Linked DNA regions of Homo sapiens: all the other regions are linked to region 2. The links are contacts of gene promoters, found by promoter capture Hi-C in blood cells and fetal thymus (Javierre and others, 2016). All regions are on one chromosome and are shown on one strand. Each heading gives the region's core, a stretch centred on a gene start or on the middle of the fragment in contact. The rest is flanking DNA. Distances are from core to core; before and after follow the strand shown.

Region 1 (2,813 bases), core at 83-2,582, 380 kb before region 2:
GGGAGGCTGAGGCAGGAGAACGGCGTGAACTCAGGAGGCAGAGCTTGCAGTGAGCTGAGATCGAGCCACTGCACTCCAGCCTGGGTGACAGAGCCAGACTCCGTCTCAAAAAAAAAAAAAAAAAAAAAAAACAAAAGAGTTTGGTAAATAATTGTTCGTTGCATGGATGAAACTCCACAAAGGTAGATTAGTGGGAGGCAATGGTTTGTCATTGTTCAATAATTGAAGAATTATTTCATCCTAACAATAATAGACTCTGTTAGAATGAAGAAGTTAAAGCCTCAGAAGGCAATAGCAGTTTTTAAAATCTGTTTGAGAAAATGAATGCTAGCTGGACTGGCCGAATCACGTTCTCCCATCTTGCTAGTGACCTACGTTGTCCTCTGGAGACAGACATAATATATTTTATATCAGTTGTACAATGCTTAATGTGTATATATGTATGTATATATACATTATGCATCCATATATACATAAGCATTGTACAACAAAACTTCATATACCTTTTTTCCTTACTTGTAACCCCCTAGATATTTTTATTACCCCATTTTATATAAAAATGCATGGAGGTGAGAAAGAAGAACTTTCTGCAGATCACACAGTCTGTAAAACAGGATTTAAAACCAGGTTTTCTGACCCTGAATCCAGGGCTCTTTGAGCCATGTTGCCCATGCAAAGGCTAAATTCTGTTCATTCCTGGAGCCGTAGTACCAGTAATGGTAATGGATGGGTATCGTACCAGCAAGGTTTTCCAGTGGCTGGGGTTCAGAAAAGCTCTGGTTATATCAGACTGACCTTCATGTTTTCAACAGGTCAATGCCTTTTGCCGCTGGGACTTCAGGGCAATGAAATAGGAAGTGCGCCTGACCATCACGAGATGTGAAGGATTCCATGGCCGTGATTCCCATATTCAAATGGGATTTTCCAAGTGGAAAGACAGCAGTCACTTAAACACAGGCCTCAGAGGCCAATAGGACCCATCCCCGCAGCTATGCAGACATCACCCATGGAAAATTAGCCTGCATCAGTTTGTCCGGTCCCGGGAGGGGCATTCTCTAATGGTTTCGTGGCTGCAGCAATGGAGCAATTCTATTTCACGCTGTCCCAAGAGAGGCCTTCCAATGTAATGACTCCCCACAGTTGTAATTTTCCTTTCATTCATTTGCTTCCTTACATTTGGGGAGGTTTCTTTTCTAATGAAAAACTGAGCCAAAAAAAGAAAAATAAAACAATTCTTGCTTTTAGCCTAAAGTTGATAGTTTTCGACGAAAAAACCTCCCTGTTAAAAATTTACATTGGGCATATACCCAATAATGACATTGCTGGTCAAATGGTATTTCTGGTTCTAGATCCTTGAGGAATCACCACATTGACTTCCACAATGGTTGAACCAATTTACACTCCCACCAACAGTGTAAAAGTGTTCCTATTTCTCCACAGCCTCGCCAGCATCTATTGTTTCCTGACTTTAATAATCGCTATTCTGACTGACATGAGATGATATCTCACTGTGGTTTTGATTCATCACACACTGGGGCCTCTTGAGGGTTGGAGGACAACGAGAGAGAGAGCACTGGGACAAATACCTAATGCATGCAGGGCTTAAAACCTAGATGATGGGTTGATGGGTGCAGCAAACCGCCATGGCACATGTATACCTATGTAACAAACCTGCACATTCTGCACATGTATCCAGGTCTTAAAGTTAAAAAAAAATCTACATTGATTTCCTGGGACTTCTTTGAGTGAGTTCTATTGTCTTCAGATAATAATTGCAAACTTTATTTAGCACACGATGTGCCAGACATGATACACTCTTTCACTTGATTTTTCCAACAAGCCACAGGAAAAGGACTGTTACCGTCTCACATTTTGCAAATAAGAAAACCAAGGCTCAGAGAGACTCACCCAGTAGTAGCAGGGGACCTCAGGCTCTGCCAAAGACTCATCTGGCTCCAGAAACAGCTCACTCGGCCACAGAGCTCTTCTATCCTCTGCCAGCTTCGATCAACCTGGAAATGGACACACTTTACTATTAATAGTAAGCCCAAGAATAATGATCTAAGCATCATGTTCATATGTGGGACTATGCATATCCATAGAGACGTGGGCTCAAACCACGTTTTAATAACATTCCACAGCACATTTCTTCCCAAGACCTTCTTCAGACCTTGCCATGTGCATTCAGGAGCATTATTTCTCATCCTGTGAAAGCAAAGGAATGACTGGAAAGAGAGTCATGTGGGACATTTTCTCCATGTCTGTGGCTTCTGAAATCCCCAAACACCACAGGACTCAAAGGCTTGGGGTGCTGTGATGCCCCTTCTCTGCAGCTCTTGGACACCGTCTTTTTGGTTTGTGTTTGCAGCAAATATCTTTCCTTGGGTGCCCAAAGAGAAAGCAGAAATACCTGTTTTTGCGAGGAGCAAAAACCGATTCCCCCACCATGTGTCGGCTCCATCTAAGCCATTTGTTGGGGGGACATCCCTTTCTCCTCAGAAAGCCCCCAGTCATGCAAAAGACAGTCATAGATCGATGGGAAGGACTGACCCAAATTCCTGGGCTGTGAGATTGGGGAAGTGTGACATGGTACAGATGTGTGTCCCCTCCAAGCCTCATGTTGAAATGTGATCCCCAATGTTGGAGGTGAGGCTTGGGGAGAGGTGTTTCGGTCGTCGGGGCAGATCACTCATGGGTGGCTTGATGCCGTCTTTGTGATAGTGAGTGAGTTGTCACTCTGAGTTCAGGCGACATCTGGCTGTTTAAAAGGGACCCCTCCCGCACTTACTCCCTCTCTCACCATGTGAAGCGCC
Region 2 (3,159 bases), core at 1-2,500:
CTTAAAAATGTAAAAGACATTCTTAGCTCGTAGACCCTTACAAAAACAGGCAGCAGGCTAGATATGGCCTGGGGGGCATAGTGAGTGGACCCCTGTTCTAGTGGATATCCTCTTCTCAAAACCTGATGTTTAAAAGCATTTTCCAGGTGTGCCGTTGGTCAATGATTGGGGGTAACGCTAAAAGAAAACCAGGTTAATTTAACAAAATACTAACATTAGAAAAATAGCCACATCTGATTACAGACTTTGTATAAAGCCTCTAGTCTTTACTTTTGGCTATGAGGTTTTATGACTCCAGGCCCCACAATACAGGCCCCTTTTTTCTCACGGTCAAACTCTACAAGACACGTGTCCGCTATTCCCCTCTCCTGGGCTCTTCCAGGTGCACAGAGGGTGGGACTGCGTGCGGTATCATATACTGGTTAGGACAGCAGCTCCGGTCTAAGGCCCTGTCAGCACTGACTAGCCACACACAGGGAGAGTCACCTAAACGTCCGATGCCTTAGTTTCTGCCTGTAAAATGATATAAGAGAGTTGATAGAGCGGTTAAAAAAATCAGACAATACCATACTAGCCTAAGCACAGCGCCTGGCACACAAAGACTCCGCAGTAAAAGGCGGCTCCTATTATTGGAACAATTAGCATAGAAACTCAACTGCCGCTCCTCCAGGTGGGCCTCAGAGGGGGTCGAACAGGACCAGACCCAGGAGGGCCCCACACCAACTTCCGGAGGGCAGGACTCTGCCTGCCAGTGAGCCCCAGATCCAGGGACTAAGGCAGCAGGGGTGAAAGCAGGTAGGGGGAAAGGCGGGATTTGGGGGACAGGCAGCATGGGGGAGGGAGCAGGCAGCGGGGGATTGAGGGGAACTAGCAGCACGGGGGTTGGGGCACAAGCAGTACGGGGGAGGAAGCAGGCAGTCGGGGGTTTGGGGGGACAGGGAGCACGGGAGACGAAGCAGGCAGCCGGGGGTTTTGGGGGGACAGGCAGCGGGGGAGAGAGCAGGAGCAGGGGGTTTTGGTGGGACAGGCAGCGGGGGAGGAAGGAGGCGGCAGGGGGTCTGGGGGAGACAGGCAGCGAGGGAGGGGCGAGCGGGGCTCCTCCCACGGGATCCCCCGAGTGCGCCCGCGACGAGGGGTGCCGGTCCTCAAACTCCCGCTGCTGGAGCAGGCAGCAGGAAGTACCTCACCTTTCAGGATGGGGGCCGCCATGACAGACGGCGGGATCCGGCCAGCTGGCCTACGCGGTGCTTGCGAGCCTGGCGGCGCGCGCGGGCACTGGGCATGCGCGGGGTGAGCGCGCCGCCGTCACCGCGCTCCGCTGAATCCGCGTTTCCGGGATTTCTCTGTAGGTGAGGCGGGAGGCTGGAGGGAGCTGAGCCCCCGGGGAGGGGGCCCGATTCCGCCTCGCCGCGCCTCTGGCTGCTGGGCCGTGGGTTTTTCTCTTCTCCTGGGAGTAAGGAGGACGACGGCCCCTAACCCCTGAATTAGCCTTCTATTTCCATTAGTGACTTAGAAGCTACCCGGCGCCTCATCTGGGCTCACCTGAGCTGAGGATCAGGAAGGGGAGGGGGCACAGTCATTCCCTCGCGGACGCGGCGGGACCCCAGCGGACGGCTTTGTGCGGACTTTCGGCACCGTTATGCCCCCCTAGCCCGACACCACCTGGGGCTGGCGCGCCACGTTACTGTTCAGGGCCAGACGCACCGCCCTGCCTGCTCCGGGGAGCCGGACCTCCGATCCCGGGGATGGGGGACCCCGAGACCTCAGACCCAACGGAGGGGACTCTGATACCTCAGACCCCACGCGGGGACCCCGAGGCTTCAGACCCCCACAGGGTGACCCCGAGATCTCAGACCCCCGCAGGAGTACCTCCAGACCTCAAATCCCCAGTAAGGGAATGAAAGAGACTTCGGATCCCTGAGGCAGCAAATCCCTGTAGGGGCATCCCAGGACTCAGGTCACCGCGGGGTGAACCCAGACCTCACATTCAGGCAATCCCCAGGACGCCGATCGGCTGGCACTACCCACTGTCCCGGCCACCCCCCCTGGAGCTCAAAGGCTTGGCCCTCCAGCTGCTCCACCCTGCCGGCAACCAGGCTCAAACCTGCAGCCCGCGGATCCCCTGCCCCGGAAGCAACCAGATTCGCGGGAGGTTACCTGACTGATCCAAGGTGATACAGCTGGTAACTGATGGAGATGTTGGTAGTGAAATTCATGTACTTTTAGTTCTTTCTATGGAATCTAGAGGTAGAATACATGTAAAAGAATATCGACTACCGTCTACTCAGGTCTCTGTTTTATCTGTTTATTCATTCACTCTCAGCTTTTAATAGGATCCAATGAGCCCTCTGTGGTTCTGAAGAATTGCCTTGAGTATATGCAGCCTCAAAAAACCCACTTCCTAGGCTCAGTCTTTGATCAATATTTATCATTATCACCAGTTATTGTTCTAATAAACTCTACTCTGGAAATATGGTGTTATGGTTTACTTGGGAGTGTGAGTTCAGGGCATCATTGAAGACTCACGTACTTTTACTGAGAAAGTGACATTGATCTCTGTAGATTTTGAATTAAATGATATGATGAAGTATATAAACCAATTACTTTTGGTCAAGGTGGTAAAAAAAGTTTAGTATTTGATAGATTCTTCATCTCCACGATCACAAATATTTTCTCCTAGGATTTCTTCTAGAAATATTACTGCTTTAGGTTGTATATCAGGTCTAGGTTCTACTTTTTTTTTTTTTTTTCTCCAGGCAGTTTCTCACTCCGTTGCCCAGGCTGGAATGCAGTGGTGTAATCACAGCTCACTGCAGCCTCAACCTACTGGACTCAAAGGATAAGATCTGCTTTTAATTAATTTTTGTATACGGTATGGGATAGGGACCAAAGTTCATTTTTTTGCATGTATACATATCCAAATGTTCCAGCATCATTTATTAAAAAGTTATTTTTGTCTCTACTGCATTTCCTTTGTGCTTACATCAAAATCTGTGTTGCATATGTATGTGTTTCATTTTAGGCTTCCTATTGTGTTCCATTGAGCTATTTGTCTTTTTGCTGCCAGCACCATGCTGTTTTGATTATTGTAGCTATATAAATAAGTGATGAAATCAGATAGTTTATGTCCTACAACTTTATTTTTCAAGGTTATTTTGT
Region 3 (2,736 bases), core at 1-2,500, 460 kb before region 2:
AATCCTTGTCTGACACATAAGTAAATGGGAGTGGCTGTGCTTCCATAAAACTGTGTTCAAAAGAACAGGCAGCAAGCCAGATTTGGCCAAAGGTCATTGTTTTCCAACCTCTGGTTTAGGGGATAGACCTGATTCTGTCCATTGTTTAGAAGGAGAACTTCCATGAAAATGGATATTTCCAGTTAACTCCCAATATACATACACTTGTTCATGGCTGCTTTCTTCTGAAAATACATGAACTATCCAAAATATTGAAAAATAATAGTTTTTTAAAATCACAATAATAAAAAGCCTTGGGAGAAATAGTTATTCCCCTGCCTTTATCTCTTCTGTTAGATCACGGACTGATGGTAATTTATGAACAAAAGCCACTTGAGGCTTTTTTATTATTAGTCCCAAATCTTGGAAGACAACAGGTTTTTAAAAGAAATTTAGTGAGCTGTCATGTGGGTGCCCCTTTGTTCTGTTCTGGACAGGCATGAAAGCTGATTCACTAACTTCTTATACCATTCACATTTTTGATCAAGGTTGTTTTATGCCACGAAAGCCTGAGAACCCACAAATATCAGCAGAAAAATACACGCTTGTCACAATCAGTCAAAATACAAAACAGTGCTATAACAAAAATTGCTCAAAATACTACTCTTCCAATCAAATCTACTATTGGCCTGTTTTTCCCAGTATACTTCTCCAATCTGAGTCGGCACATAAATTTTTTGTTTCATCATTGCACTCATCGGGTATATGGCATTTTGATTCCTGCTGTTTCTGTACACACAGTGCCCTGGTGGCTTCATCTCATCCACCGTGGTCCTCTTTAAGGACTGCACCATGCTGGGCCCAGCCTATTCACCAAGGGGGCAGCATGGAGTTCTCTCTTCTCTCTTAGTTGCATCCATCTGGCTTTAGCTTAAGGAGCTGCAGAACTCCCCCTCCTAAGGGAAAAAGGGGGTGCTTTAAGATCCATGGAGGGGTGTTTTTGAATGGCCTTAGTAGATGCTGTGCACAGAAGACACAGCCTCAGGAAAGGCTGCTGGGTTCTTCACATCCTTAAGGAACAGAAAGGGAAAAGTTTCCATTTAGAGCAGTCCTTGCCCAGAACATGTCAAACCTGAATGCTGAGATTCAACCCAATTTCTTCCAACCAGCCCAGACTGAACGGTGACTCAGAACTCAGAGTGACTCCGACAGTGCCTCATTCACCTAAAGGAAGACTCCTTTCTGAAAAATGAACAGCGTAGAATGTTTTAACCAAATGTGTGCAGACTAAAGACCCTGTTGCTGCCTAGTCAGGGTGCAGCCCTCCACATTCACTGGCATAGTCTCCAAGTGCAAGCACCCGCCATTCTTTACAAGTGAAACCTGATCTTCCCCCTCCGTGAACCACACAGGGACTTGATTCGCTTGTTCCCTTGTTGACAGGCAAATACACTGGTGCCCACTGGGGATCACCCCGCTGGTCATCATCCACAAGACCTGGAAGAGGAGGAGGAGACTCCCATAGCAGGAGGGGTTACAGGCTCTTCTCTAGAGGAAAGCCACCTGGCTCTCGCTGGAGCTCACCCAGGTGCAGGAGGACCAGAGGTCCACCATGGGGCTGGGGACTGACCCCCCATCTCAGCCTCACCTTACTTGGTTCTCCCCTGCCTCCCTTGCTGCCCTGTTGTGGTGGGCCAGGTCTCACTAATGTAGGCCTCCCTTACAACTGTCCCAGCACTGACTGAGCAGCTACATTAAACATTAAAGCTAATTGAGCCAGTGCCCTTATACAAAGGCTGGAATGTAACAACGAGCCCACCAAAAGTTTTCTCTAGGCTTTTCGTGGGCCTTGGAGCATGACAAGATAATGAAGGGATTCTTAACAGGACCTTCAAGTTTAAACAAGTTTTACTGGGGGTCTGAATAAACCCCCCAGGCCTCCATAGACAAGTTTGTTGGGGTCTACAGAACTCCCCAAACCTTTATGATTCATCAGGAGACAAGATAAGGGTAATCACCCCACCACCTAGACCCATTTAGATTAAGTAAATTTACTGAGGATCCAGAAGAAAGTCTTCAGGATGGAGACCTTAGTTATAGATTAAAAGAAGTTAATCACTTATGTCTTTCGATGAGTGCACACTTACATGTAGACCTACAGTTTAGAAGGTATATAAGCTCTGGAAAACTGTGTAATTTTGAGTTGGTCTGGTTATCATTTCCAGGCCTTCTTCCTGTAACTGGTTACAGAAATAAAAACTCTCTTCCTCCCCAGTTCATTGGCCTCTCATTATTGGGCCACAAGAAATAGCAGCCTGACCCACAGTTTGGTCCAGGAACACTGTGACCTGGCAGACCCATTCCTTGAAGCATGTCCCACAGCCAGGTGACCTGGGCACACACCCAGGAAAAGCACTTTCTCCTAGGCTGGCCCCAGGAAGACGCACCCACACTGGCCCCCTCCCCAGCTGGCCAGGGGTCCTGCTGTGTGTTTGATTATTATTATTTTTGTTTTTTTCTGTTTTTGTTTTTTGAGATGGAGTCTTGCTCTGTCACCAGGCTGGAGTGCAGTGGCATGATCTCGGCTCACTGCAACCTCCTTCTCCCAGGTTCAAGCAATTCTCCTGCCTCAGCCTCCCAAGCAGCTGAAATCACATGCGTCTGTCATCACGCCCAGCTAATTTTTATATTTTTAGTAGAGACAGGGTTTCACCATGTTGGCCAGGATGGTCTCGATCTCTTGACCTTGTGATCCAC
Region 4 (3,179 bases), core at 390-2,889, 400 kb before region 2:
GTTTTTATTCTCTCCAAACACTTTTGGATTAGGGTACAATATTAGAGCTCTAAAAAGGAATAGTAGAATAACTTAGCTCAGCCTGACACATACTAAGGGCACCTGCAGACACTTTCTGCAATAAGCTCTCAGACCATCAGCATCCTCCTGGCCAGCCACATAAGCCAATCGGGGATGCAGACAAGTGGCTACAAACTTTCCATACAACAGGTGAAGATAACGAGACTTTGGGTCGGATGCAGGGGCTCACACCGGTAATCCCAGCACTTTGAGAGGCTGAGGCGGGAAGATCACTTGAGGCCAGAAGTTCGAGACCAGCCTGGGCAATGTAGTGAGACCCCATCACTACTAAAAATACATAAATTATCCTGGTGTGGTGGCACACACCTGTAGTCCCAGCTGCTCGAGAGGCTGAGGCACGAGAATCAGTTGAACTGGGAGGCAGAGGTTGCAGTGAGCTGAGATCGTACCATGGCACTCCAGCCTGGGCGACAGAGCAAGACTCTATCTAAAAAAAAAGCTTGTTAATAGAACAAAATCATTCATAGTTCCATTCACTGTGCTATCCCAGCATCTCAGTCCTTCCTCCATGCAGTCTCTCGCCCAGCCAGGTGAGAGCATGAGCACTTCCCTGAGTCCTCACCAGCCCTCCCCATTTGTCCTCCAAGACTCCACTCAAACATCTCCTCTTGGTGCCTTCCTGGGCCCTCCCCAGCTCCAGCTCTCCCAGACCTACCCTCTGTCCCCAGGTTGTATTCCACTGCCCTTTGCCCTCTGGTGACCTCTTCCTAAACTTGAAGCCCTGCCTCCCTGAAGGCTAATTAAGGGTTGCAGTCCTCCTTCTGGGCTAACTCCAAGGTCCAGCAGAGTGTCCAGCAAAAGTAGGCGTTAGAGCATTCAACAGCATGAATTCACTAACGAGCGGGGCTGTGGGCATGAATTTCAGCTTGAGTGCATATCCTGGATCAACGGCATTTGTGTTATGGGGTAAAAGTAAGGGTGGGATATGGGGAATTTGCTCATTCTTTTCAAACTTTCTAGCCCTTGAATAGCCTGGAAAGCTAGAAATACTCTTCATTCATTCATTCATTTAAGGAATATTAGTTGAGTATGACAGGCACTGAGTATGCAGAAATCAAGGCATGTACTTGCTGTTCGAGGCCCTGTGGACCAACATCGGCTTCTCAGATGGCTTCCTCACTTCATGCCTCCAGAAAGCATATTGCCCGGTGATGAAAAGGATCAGAAAATATACACTATATTTATTAGAGAAGACTAATAAATGGACACTTAATTCAAAAATGCCTGCTGAGCACCTATCAAATGCTAGTCATTAGGATCACAGAGCTACACAGAAGAAATGTGACAGGTGCTCACGGCGTCAGTGGGAGAAGCAGGTGAGAGCTTTATGGAGTCCCCTCTGAGACGGCTGCAGGAACCCACAGAAGGTCAGCTTAACAAGGACATGATTGTCATCTTCAGGGACCTGACACTGTTCTGTAGCGAGAGATTCTATTTTCTTCCTGCAGTTTCTTATGAGCCATGAAGAAACTCCTTAGGGCTCCAGACAGGTTCTTTAAGACAGAGTTACCCAAAGGTGGACAAGGCTGTCCCTGCAGACAAGTGCATAAAGCCAGAAGAGCCCCTTCGTGAAATGACTAAGAAGGAACCTCGAGGACTAGAAGATGCAGCTGAAAGTGACTTTCCAGGTCCTGACCTGGAGCTTCAGTGGCTGCGCATGGGCAGCAAGGAGCCACAGCAGCTGGAGACTTCAAGTCTGTTCCAGGACATTTTCCATTTTTTTTTTGTTTTTTGTTTTTGTTTGTTTGTTTGTTTTTTGGTAGAGATGGCGTTTCATCATTTTGGCCAGGCTGGTCTCGAACTCCTGACCTCAGGTGATCCACCCACCTCAGCCTCCCAATGTGCTGGGATTGCAGTCATGAGCCACTGTGCCCAGCCCACTTTCACTATTGAGAAGAAAGGAAGAACCAGAGAATGAAAACCAGTGCATCGGGAGACCTGAAGACGAGCATGTCGGCTCCCTGCTCTCGTGGAGCCTCTATGGGTCAGGTTTTGCAATTATCCACAATAACCAGCCTTGAGTATCCATGACGCTTCACCCCAGGAGAACTCATGCCTCTGCCTGTGGAAGGACACAGAGGACCTCAGTGGGGATGGAAGAAGGGCCTTCTCCTTGTCACCAGCTCCCAGGACTGAATACTGACTGCTGTCTTGGGGAGAAGGGACTGGATGGTGCTTTGGACCTCACTAGCCCCCATCTGGATCTTTATGGCTGGGCCCATAGAGCACGACCATGACATCTGGAGACAGCTGTGCTAATGCCCTTCAGACAAAGACCACCAGGAACCCCCTGTAACTGAACCAGTTGGGTTTATGACTCTTCTCGGCAAAGAAGCACGCACACCGTGGGGGACTGCGGGGCCGCTCAGTGAAAGGAGATTGGAAAGGAGTTACAGGATTTGGGCTTTGCTGGGTGAATCTGGGTGAGTCTAGGGAAGCCGGGTCTACTCAGGTTTGGGGGCAATGCTGTGACCCGGTATTGCAGTCAGTTGCATCTGTAGGGAGGGAGTCGAGCAAGCATAAAGCTGCCATGGGTAAAGAAGCAGTCATCACTCACTTAGTGGGAAAGGGGGAGCCTGGTGTTTTGTGGTTGCATGGTGACCTTTGGTCTTGCTGTGTCACGGTCTCCAGTGGCCACGTCAGAGGCTTCTCACAGAGGTGTCCTGTGAGAAGCTTTGTGGCCAACAGGAGAACACCAGGGCCGGCCTTAAGCATCGGACCAGGTCCCAGAGTTCCGGGACTGCTCTTTTCTTCATCATATTAGTGGTAGTTTTATAGATGTTTGGTAGCCTAAATATTATCTATTGGATCACAACCAAAACAGTAGCTTTTCCTGAGTCCCAGCGGCGGGTCACTCATCTTCCAGCTATGTCTGGACCCGAGTTTGCATTTCAGCCCATCCCGTCCTTAGTGCAGAGCGGACCTCACGTAGACCGGCTGCATTTGTCCACAGCGTACACTGATGTCCGGAGACAGCGGAAACAGCCATGTCTATCACAGAAGCCCAAGGTCACACAACCGTGACCCACCTGCCCGGGGGCGAGGCTGAGCCAGTGCAGATAGCCGGATGCTCCTCACAGGTCCGCAGGAAGGACAGG
Region 5 (3,145 bases), core at 5-2,504, 380 kb after region 2:
TGTAAAAGAGAAGATTGAAGTAGTACCCAACATGGTGTCGTTAGAGTATTAAATCAGACAATTCATAGAAATGGCTGTGCTCAGTGCCTTCCACTACATAAAGCTTTGATTCAGCGCTACTGTTGTTACCGTCTGTGTATTCCAGGACAAGACTGGGGATGGAATCAGACTCAGGTATTAGCGTATTCCTTTGAATCTCAGAGTTACAAAGTGAGGGTTATATAATGATTAATTGCACAAATCCAGATATTACCATAAACATTTTAGCAGCGACATATCCTGATGCTCAAATTCTCAACTGATTGCTTGGCCAGGGGCAAATGTAGCCATAAACAATCTTAGAGCAATTTTGACAGTCAGAGATATTTTATGTGACCATCTCCATTGACTTTGGAATTGAAAGATTCTACTGAATTGTCATATGAAGGATATTGCGATTATGTGAAATGGAAGAATGATGTGAAATGAAGAAAGAGAAATCATATAAGCTATAGTTGAAGAATACAGTGTATTCTTTTTTAATATACACATTGCAGCAGGTTTATCATTTGAATTTAAAATCAGAGCCGGATGTCCTTGTATGCCTTTTATTCAATTTTTCAGGGAGAAAATACTACTCTCAAATGTATCATGAAATGACATTACATTTACCACCCACCAGCCTGTGTTGACTGAATAGTCCTGAATATTCAGGTGCAAACTCTGAAAGTAAAACAGAAGTGAAGATATAAATACAATAGGCTCATTGTCTGTAGATAAACTGGAGAAATAATAAACTTCTTTTTCTACATAACATATGACATAGAGAATTTCTGATGCAATATTGAAAATGCCAGAAATGTTAAATCGGTAGGCAACATTAAGAACTATAGGAACGGTTTTGTTCTTGTGCTCGGCCACCCAAAAGAAACAAGAATATAGTACTTTCTCCCGTTAATGGTATAATGAATCCAGAACTGTTCTGTGGGATGTTTCTTAAACTTAGGAGGTGATAATCTCTCTTACCCTATACTTATTTCATTACAAATTAGTTGGAAATTTCTTCTTTAAAAAATTTCTCTTGGATTTATTTTCTTCTTTCCATGCTTGCTTTTGCCATTAAAGTTGAGCTCCTTTTCAAGTTTGGATTATTTTTGTGGTCTCTTGAAAAGTCTTCCCACTTGGAATGCATTCTAGATGATTGTATGGTGTTAATATTTTTACAACACTACTTTTATCATGTCACTTTCCTGCTCTAAAATTAATTATTACTGTCTATTTTTCTCACCTCATCCAATAAATAGCTGTTTCTTCACATTTTCAGGCTCAGCATTCTAGTCCCGCTTTGTCTCTCTCACTTATTTTTTCCCAATCATCAATATCATTGTGATTCACTTGGAGCCCCTGTTGCAAGCACTTCTGCTTCTCTGCGCCATGTTCCTTCTCCCCTTTATGCTTTGACCGCTCTGTCAGCTTCATCTCTTTTCTGCCTCCTGCGAGATCCACCTGTCTAGATCGATTACATCCTCAAAGCCTTCTTGCTGCAAACTTGGTCATCATTTACAAACCCAAATCAGCTCCAGTATGCCCTCTTGCACAGCAGTGGCTGTAAATACCCTGCTGCCATGGTGAGCACAAAGAATGCACAGTCTCTGGCAGCTTTCCAGGGTTGTGAGGTCATAGCTAAGTCTTAATATTCTTGTCTCCCACAGGACTCTTGGGACATCAGGGTGGGCTACCTGGTATCTTATCTGCAAGAGAGCCCCAGGGCTTAGAATGATGAGGGATTTGGAGTGATAGTTGGGTCCTGATATGGTTTGGCTCCCTTTCCCCATCCAAATCTCATCTCGAATTTTAATCCCCATCACCCCATGTGTTGAGGGCAAGGCCTGGTGGGAGGTGATTGACTCGTGGGGCTGGTTTTCCCCTGGCTGCTCTTGTGATAGTGAGTTCTCATGAGATTTGATAGTTTTATGAGGGGCTCTTCTCCCTTTGCTCACTGTCTCTCACCTGCGCCATGTATGACATGCCTTTGCTTCTCTCTCACCTTCCTCCATTATTGTAAGTTTCCTGAAGCCTCCCAGTCATGCAGAACTGTGAGTCAATTAAACCTCTTTCCTTTATAAATTACTGTCTCGGCTGTGTCTTTCTAGCAGTGTGAGAACAGACTAACACAGGTCCTGAGATTCATAGGTTAAAAATGGGTTGGTATATAAGCCCTGTCCCCACTCCCACAGTTGCTGGTAAGAGATAGGGAAAAATAATCAGGGAACAGGTTGACCATTTGCAGCAAGTGCATTTGAAGGCCCCTTCCAGGATGCTCTGCAGACTTTTCAAGTTCTTCAGAGAGGTCTTGGCATGAGTGAAAAAAACACACTCCTTTGGGGACTACAGGAGGAGTTGCCATTACCTGGAAAGGAAGCTTGTCTTCATCTTACAAAGGACAGTAGGATAAAGGATGTGGAGTGGAGAAAAAGACCTGAAAAGAGTAAAAGACTGTGGGCAGGGGATGCAGCAACAACACCATCAAGAAAACCCAAACCAGCAGGTACTAAGGAGCATGAGCCCCTGGGACAAACTGGGCGGGAGAAGGTGCAGAATGAGACAGAGACAGGAGGATGAGGGAGACAGAGGAGGATGAGGAAGAGAGAGAGGCAGAGAGAGAGGGAGAGAAAGAGAGAGGAGAGAGGGAAGACAGAGGCAGAAGGTGTCCTAGAAACTACTTACTATGTTGGTGCCCAGGTTAAATGCTATTGAGAATTATTGTAAACCCTCAGATATTGAGGGCTTTGTGTTCTGAGTCAAGAGATGCAATATTAAAGTAATAAAGACTGCAGTCTTATCTATCAGAAACATAAGCACATCTGTGCTTAGGAAGTGACTAACACATTTTCAGTCCCCGATTTATTAGGACATCCCACATGGGTCAGGCCTTCAGGGCCTTTGCAGCCCCGTCTGGGATGTTTGGCCGGGTGGATACCTTTCTTCTGGGGCTGTTTCATGCCCTTCCTGGGTGAGGCTCTGCGTCACAGGTGCTTGAAGAAGTGTAAACACATCTTGTTTCTTCAGCAGTGTCTTAGTTCATTTGTGTTGCTATAAAGGAATACCTGAGACTGGATAATTTATAAAGGGGTTTATTTGGCTCACGGTTCTGCAGGCTGTACAG
Region 6 (2,815 bases), core at 26-2,525, 420 kb before region 2:
TAGTGAAAGTTCAAGGTTGTCAAAAGGAAAGTTAAGGTAAACTCTAAAGGTATGTAAGACAGGTTCAGCATAAATGGGTGGAGATTTAATATTTAAAAGTATATAAAATATAGCCCTAGCCCTGGAGGGCCCAGTCCTGCCTCAGGATCCCTCGAGTGAGGCTTGAAGGCTGTTGCGATTTCCATCAATGTAGGGAGGGAACAGGCGTTTCCGACACAGCAAGCTGCAGCCGCTGGTGCAAAGACATAGATGCGTGCCAGAAGTGGTGTATATGGGAAATTAGGATGAGGTTCTTGAGACTAAAGGGTAAGAATTTCCTAGATGGCAGGAATGTGGCAGGAGATAAATGGGCTGGACCATGAAGAAACTTTTCTACTGGATTAAGGAGTTTGGATTTTATCCTCAGGCATTGGAGACCTGTTGGAAGGGTTTGAGCAAAGGAATAATATGGGCAAATGAGCCTGTAGACAGATGGCACCAGGGACAATAAAATGCAACAGAGTTGGGAGGGACGGGGTCCATGCAGGCAGCCAGAAATCCAGGCAAGTGCTGATAAGGACCTGGAATGATGCAGCGACTGTGAGGACAGATGTCGGACACCATCTCATAGGACCTAGTGACCAAATCCCCACGCTCTCCATCCCGCCTCAGCTTCCTCCCCGGCTTCCCTAGTGGCTGTCCAGGGGTCTCAGCCTGAATTTCTCCCTCTGCAATGGGTTCGAGACAGCTCGTTTCAGAAAACCGGGCTAGTCACCTTCCCACTGGTCCTCTGTTTCTTACAAGAGTAGCCCCACAACTCAGCCTCTCCTGGCCCCCGCCTTACCAAGCACCAGATATTCGCTATTCCCAGACATGGACCTTCATTTCAGTGCCTTGTACCCTGTGCCACTGACCCCAGACACTCCTTTAGGCTCTTCCTACCATCTACCTGTCCAGAGTTTGCCTGTCCTCCTCTTCCAGGAAGCATTCCCTGACCACCTTATTCTCTCTGCCTGTGACTCTGATTCCACCACTACCCAAGCCACTCATGTTGATACTTATATTTCTTCCTCTTGAAGCTTTTCGCATTTGTATGTTTTCTTTCCACACTGAATCTTAGGTTTCTAAAAGACATCTTTCATTTCACTTCCCCCCTTTTCTTTTTTTTCACGAGAGTCTTCTGCCTCTGTCACCCAGGCTGGAGTGCAGTGGCATAATTATGGCTCACTTGCAGCCTTGAACTTCTGGGCTCAAGTGATCCTCCCATCTCAGCCTCCTGAGTAGCTGGGACTACAGGCACCCACCACTATCCCAGCTCTTTGTTTTGTTTTGTTTTGTAGACATGGAGTCTCATTATGTTGCCAGGGCTGGTCTCAAACTCCCAAGCTCAAGCAATCCTCCTGCCTTGGCCTCCCAAAAAGCTGGGATTCATTTCTCTTACTTCGCCTGTGGTCTGTAGCAGGTGGGCCTCTCAAAGCCCAAGAAAAATGCATGTTGAACAAACAAAGCTTTCTGGAAGAGCAAGAAGAGGAAACTACCCCATGTCAGGAACAAATGATTTGAGAGTGAAAAGAAAACTACTGCCTGCCCTCATGGTTACATTTTTTAGTGTCATATGTTTTTCTTAACATTAAGTTTATGTCAGGAATCAAGACACAGTAAGAAATGGGTTCACTCCAGGATTCCAAATCATGAAAAAGGAAAGTTGTTTTTCTTAGACATCTGTCCTGGGATCTCAGCACCATGAATAAAGCCATTTCAAAGAGGAGTCCCCGAATCTTCTGCTCTGGACATAGAAATGTTTGCCACCCATCAGGGTCCAGCTTGTCACCTGCCAGTCAGAGCCTTAGGGGTCTCTACAGGGAGTTTTGCAGGTGACCTTCGAGATGCATCCAGCTTGGCTTCAGGAGTTGCTAAATTGAAGTGACCTCTAGTTCTTAAATTGAACAAGACAGGGAAGCAGAATCCAGTGGGTTTGCTGGGCAGCAGGCTCGTGTGCAGGCGGCTGTGGTCATCTCCTTATTGCTGCTGCTAGGTAGACCCAGAGAGGAATTGGTGGGTGGTGGCGAAATCTGACCTCCAGGTGAGACTCGAAGCCTGAGAGCCCGCTGGTGTGGTGGGGAGTGGCTTCGTGGTCATGGGTTCTATGTGGATCTTCAGGTTGTAAGGAAGGTGGTCTGTGCCACTTTCTACTTATGAGATGAAGTTTCCAGTAAAGGTGCCTGGCATAGGCTCATGGGAAACAGACTGAAGCAAGGACATGTTCTGACTTCTTTCTTGTTGCTTGATTCCTTTTCCGAGAGCCTCGGAGGACCACCCAGGCTGGGTGAGCAGATGTGTCCCCGTGGCCCTGGGCCACCCCATCCTGTAATCCACAGTGCAGAGATCAGCAGCTCTCTCCGCTGCCTGGTTCTCGGCTTCCACCCACCCTTGCTGGTGTCCCTTTCGTATCCAGGCCCCTTAGTGGGAACAGTCCCCAGGGTGCTGTCCTTGGTCTATGCTGTCTTCACACAGTCTCTTCTGGCCACTTCCAGTCCCTCAACCACAACTGGTCATCCAGATCTCTCCTTATGGGGGCTCCACCCATCCTCACATTCCTCACTGCTGAAGAAATTCATATCGTGGCCAATCCAGCACTCCTCACCTGGCTTATTTCCGTCGGTAGCACCACCATTTCCAAGTCATTTAGGCCTGAAACCTCAAAGCCACTGCAACTTCCCTCATCTCCCCTGTTCAGTCATCAAATCCTGATCTCCAACTCCACTATTTCCTGCACCTGCTCCCTACTTTCCATTCCTAGGACTCCCTTCACCAATTACTGCTGGAAGTATTCTAT
Region 7 (3,115 bases), core at 337-2,836, 490 kb before region 2:
TTGACCACTATGCTATCATCGAGTTGCCGCTGACCACTGAGTCGGCCGTGAAGAAGACAGAAGACAACAACACACTTCTGTTTATTGTGGATGTTAAAGCCAACAAGCACCAGATCAAACAGGCTGTGAAGAAGCTCTATGACATGGATGTGGCCAAGGTCAACTCCCTGATTCGGCCTGATGGAGAGAAGAAGGCATATGTTTGACTGGATCCTGATTACAATGCTTTGGGTGTTGCCAACAAAATTGAGATCATCTAAAAAGCTGGCCAATTCTAAATATACATATATAATACATATAATACATAATATAATATATATTATATATATAATATAATATATATAATATATAATATAATATATATAATATATAATATAATATATATAATATATAATATAATATATATAATATATAATATAATATATATAATATATAATATAATATATATAATATATAATATAATATATATAATATATAATATATAATATATACATACATGTAATATAATATGTAACATATGTGATATATATCATATATGTGTGTGTGTATGTGTATGTGTACATATACACATATATGATATATGTTATATATGTGTATATATACATATATATGTGTGTATATATACATATACATACATATATATGTATATTACCAGAAAAAAGTATATGGCACAAGAAATAAATGTTTGCTTTTATTTGTCTGTTTGTGAGGGTCAGATCTTAAGAAAAGCTTACAGAAGTCAAGAGTGATGGTGATGCCACAACTGGAAAGATTGGGCCCATGGAGTTTCTTGCCCCAGTGAGGGTGCTGCTGCTTTCCAGCAAGGCTGTTTTCAAGCCGGAAACCTGAGCCTTTGTTCAAAGCCTGTCATCTCTCCAGTGTCCTGAGCAGACCACCGGGAAGGTGCAGTGGAGATGGTTTCGGGGAGGGTTGGAGTCATGGCTGTAGAGTACAGCCAGGGGTACCACTGGCTCACAAGTCCTTTCTCTCTATGACAGAAACCAAACTGCTGGTTGTGTGTCTAGAGACAAACCTGGGAACCTGTGAAAATTTGAAAGCATTGAGCAACCCCTACCAAGAGCATTCCCTCAGTCCCTGACACCAAAACACCTGGCATCCCAGGTGAAGGCCTAGCTCAGCTGCCATCTCCAGGAGGAAACGGAGGTCTCACCACAGCAGCACACTTGCTATCCTATCCCTCCAAGACGCAGCAGCGCAACTGCTCCATCCAGTGCCTTCATTTCACTGCATCACTGGCTAGTGGAGTCACTGTTTAATATATGAATGTTAGCAAATTCCACGATCACACAAATGAAAATATCTACACCTGGTATTTGCATTTGATATATAAACATGTTTGTTGTATGATGAGAATGACAGATATCCTAGCCCAGGGTGGTATCCAACAAGTCCTATGATTCACAGCAGCTCCAGTGCTCTGAGCATGGGATAAATACTCAACCAGGGGTACACAGCAGGCCTAGAATAGGTGGAAGGGCAGTCGACCCCAGCTCAGGGACATTGCTGGGAGCCCAGGGTGGCCCACACAAGTACAGGGAGTAGGAATCCAAAGATGATTGAGATGAAGTGCCCACCTTCAAGGAGTGTGAGCCTCCAGGTGCCTACAAAAACAGCAAAAACAGTAAGGCCCACCATCGCTGGCTGGGTGACAGGCACTATCCTGATTTCATAACAACATTTAATCCTTGCAACAATATTTTGCAGTAGATACTGGTTATTGTCACCACCTCACAAATGGGGAAACTGAGGCACAGAGCATTAGGTAACTCCCCTAACACCACCCAGTTCCTCACAGTGGGTAACCGGGGTTTTAGCCTCCTGAGTCTGCAGGTCTGCCATGCTGTAGGGTGCAGCCTAGTCCCATAACCCAAGCCAGGAGGTGAGGAAGGTTTCCAGGCTGCATGAAACTCTCCTGGAGGGAGCTGATCCCATTCTGGATCGTAGATTCCAAAGGAGGAAGGTAAAAACCTTAGAACTCATGAGGGCCACACTCATACTTAATAAACGAGGAACCAAGGCCACGAAGGCACCCCGTGAAGATTCTGGTTGGGCCTTGCTGGGAGCATCCAGCTTGCTCTTCCAGATGGCTGGGAGTGTCTGGCAGTGCTTGCCGCTTATGGACACAACACAAGCAGTTTGCTTTGATGAGAAAGCCTGGCTCTAAGCCAGGGCTCACATGGCAGGTGCATGATGATTTACTAAGCATGTAGGGACCCAGAATCCAGCACCCAGCCTGGCCTTCCACGGGCTTTGCTGGGAAGCAGCTATGCTGGTTGGTAGGCGGTAAGGAGGAAATGAGGGTTTACAGAGGTAGGAGGGAGAAATTGGGGGAGAGAGTACACCCCCTTTTTCCTGATAAGACAGCTGTTCCATTACATCCTGAATTACCCTACTCTCAATACTGTTAAACAATAAAGCTTGCTTGGTTTGGGACACTTTTAAACGCAGTTGTAATTTTGAAGTCCATAGGTAGAGTTAGGGCAGGATTTTGTGAAGATCTGGGCCAAGACTTGCCTCCGACCTGGTCTCTGTGCCCAGCTCATTGGCCTCTGCTGCCCAGAAGCCACCCTGCAGTGAGTGAGATCCAGGACTTAGGAGCAAAGTCTGCCTTCACATGGGTAAACTGGTGGCAGCCCCAGAAGCAACCTGCTCTTACGCCAGGCCATGAGCCCCAGGAGTCGGATTCTTCCTTCTCCACACTGTTCTCTGGTGTGTTTTCCTCACCTCCCTACTTGTTCCTTTACCTTTTCTTCCTATCCTTCCTTGACTCCCAGAAATACCACAGGAACAGAAGCCAGAAGACTCAGCATCTACAGACCCAGTAGCTGGGAGACACAAGGCAAGTCGGTCCACACTGTTGAACATCAGTTTCCACCTCCAGAAAATGGGACCTTGGGGAAGATGGATCTGCTATACTAGTCTCACAGGCTGAGGCAGTGATCATATGAGAGCGTGTGTCCCACAGGACCTCTTACATGCTGTGCGAACATGCCAGGACAGGAAGCCCCAGCCGAGACGGCTAACGGGGGGCATCCCAGAAGAAATGTGTGGCCATTTCATGGGATGTTTTCTCCAAGCTAAAGGTGATGGAACA

Evidence for each region. Contacts are between HindIII fragments. The CHiCAGO score rates a contact against its expected background, and 5 or more counts as called.
Region 1: a fragment that was not itself captured here is called in contact with the fragment with the promoter of MCPH1 in region 2 in 17 of 17 cell types (total B cells, fetal thymus, total CD4 T cells and 14 more); the score reaches 74.1 in total B cells.
Region 3: a fragment that was not itself captured here is called in contact with the fragment with the promoter of MCPH1 in region 2 in 6 of 17 cell types (total B cells, fetal thymus, monocytes and 3 more); the score reaches 14.4 in total B cells.
Region 4: a contact is called between a fragment that was not itself captured here and the fragment with the promoter of MCPH1 in region 2, in 17 of 17 cell types (fetal thymus, total B cells, naive B cells and 14 more). The highest score is 35.7, in fetal thymus.
Region 5: a contact is called between a fragment that was not itself captured here and the fragment with the promoter of MCPH1 in region 2, in 1 of 17 cell types (erythroblasts). The highest score is 5.3, in erythroblasts.
Region 6: a contact is called between a fragment that was not itself captured here and the fragment with the promoter of MCPH1 in region 2, in 14 of 17 cell types (naive B cells, fetal thymus, erythroblasts and 11 more). The highest score is 32.2, in naive B cells.
Region 7: a contact is called between a fragment that was not itself captured here and the fragment with the promoter of MCPH1 in region 2, in 4 of 17 cell types (total B cells, fetal thymus, total CD4 T cells and 1 more). The highest score is 9.6, in total B cells.

The regions. Positions count from the first base shown.
Region 1 is chr8:6,780,911-6,783,723 of GRCh38, reverse strand. It overlaps LOC124901872, which reads right to left. Exons shown (of 3, transcript XM_047422507.1): 1 at 2,801-2,813; 2 at 1,909-2,012. The coding sequence starts at 2,803. Among named protein-coding and RNA genes, the nearest start is that of MIR4659B, 37 kb to the right of the region's middle. The HindIII fragment of the contact is 3,638 bases long and covers 1-2,813 here.
Region 2 is chr8:6,404,718-6,407,876 of GRCh38, reverse strand. It overlaps MCPH1 (microcephalin 1), which reads right to left and starts at 1,250. Exons shown (of 14, transcript NM_024596.5): 1 at 1,188-1,250. The coding sequence starts at 1,209. MCPH1-DT (MCPH1 divergent transcript) reads left to right here and starts at 1,329. Exons shown (of 2, transcript NR_040040.1): 1 at 1,329-2,171; 2 at 2,757-3,159. RefSeq lists silencers at 989-1,168, 1,429-1,508. The HindIII fragment of the contact is 9,682 bases long and covers 1-3,159 here.
Region 3 is chr8:6,865,708-6,868,443 of GRCh38, reverse strand. No RefSeq gene overlaps it. Among named protein-coding and RNA genes, the nearest start is that of DEFB1, 11 kb to the left of the region's middle. The HindIII fragment of the contact is 4,410 bases long and covers 1-2,736 here.
Region 4 is chr8:6,806,640-6,809,818 of GRCh38, reverse strand. It overlaps XKR5 (XK related 5), which reads left to right. Exons shown (of 7, transcript NM_207411.5): 7 at 1-1,302. It overlaps LOC107986909 (a long non-coding RNA gene), which reads left to right and starts at 1,917. Exons shown (of 2, transcript XR_001745769.2): 1 at 1,917-2,504; 2 at 3,035-3,179. The HindIII fragment of the contact is 2,234 bases long and covers 523-2,756 here.
Region 5 is chr8:6,020,249-6,023,393 of GRCh38, reverse strand. No RefSeq gene overlaps it. Among named protein-coding and RNA genes, the nearest start is that of MCPH1-DT, 380 kb to the left of the region's middle. The HindIII fragment of the contact is 2,298 bases long and covers 106-2,403 here.
Region 6 is chr8:6,826,403-6,829,217 of GRCh38, reverse strand. All of the region lies in intron 2 of XKR5 (XK related 5), which reads left to right. Among named protein-coding and RNA genes, the nearest start is that of XKR5, 7.7 kb to the left of the region's middle. The HindIII fragment of the contact is 429 bases long and covers 1,061-1,489 here.
Region 7 is chr8:6,896,023-6,899,137 of GRCh38, reverse strand. It overlaps the pseudogene RPL23AP96. Among named protein-coding and RNA genes, the nearest start is that of DEFB1, 20 kb to the right of the region's middle. The HindIII fragment of the contact is 1,709 bases long and covers 732-2,440 here.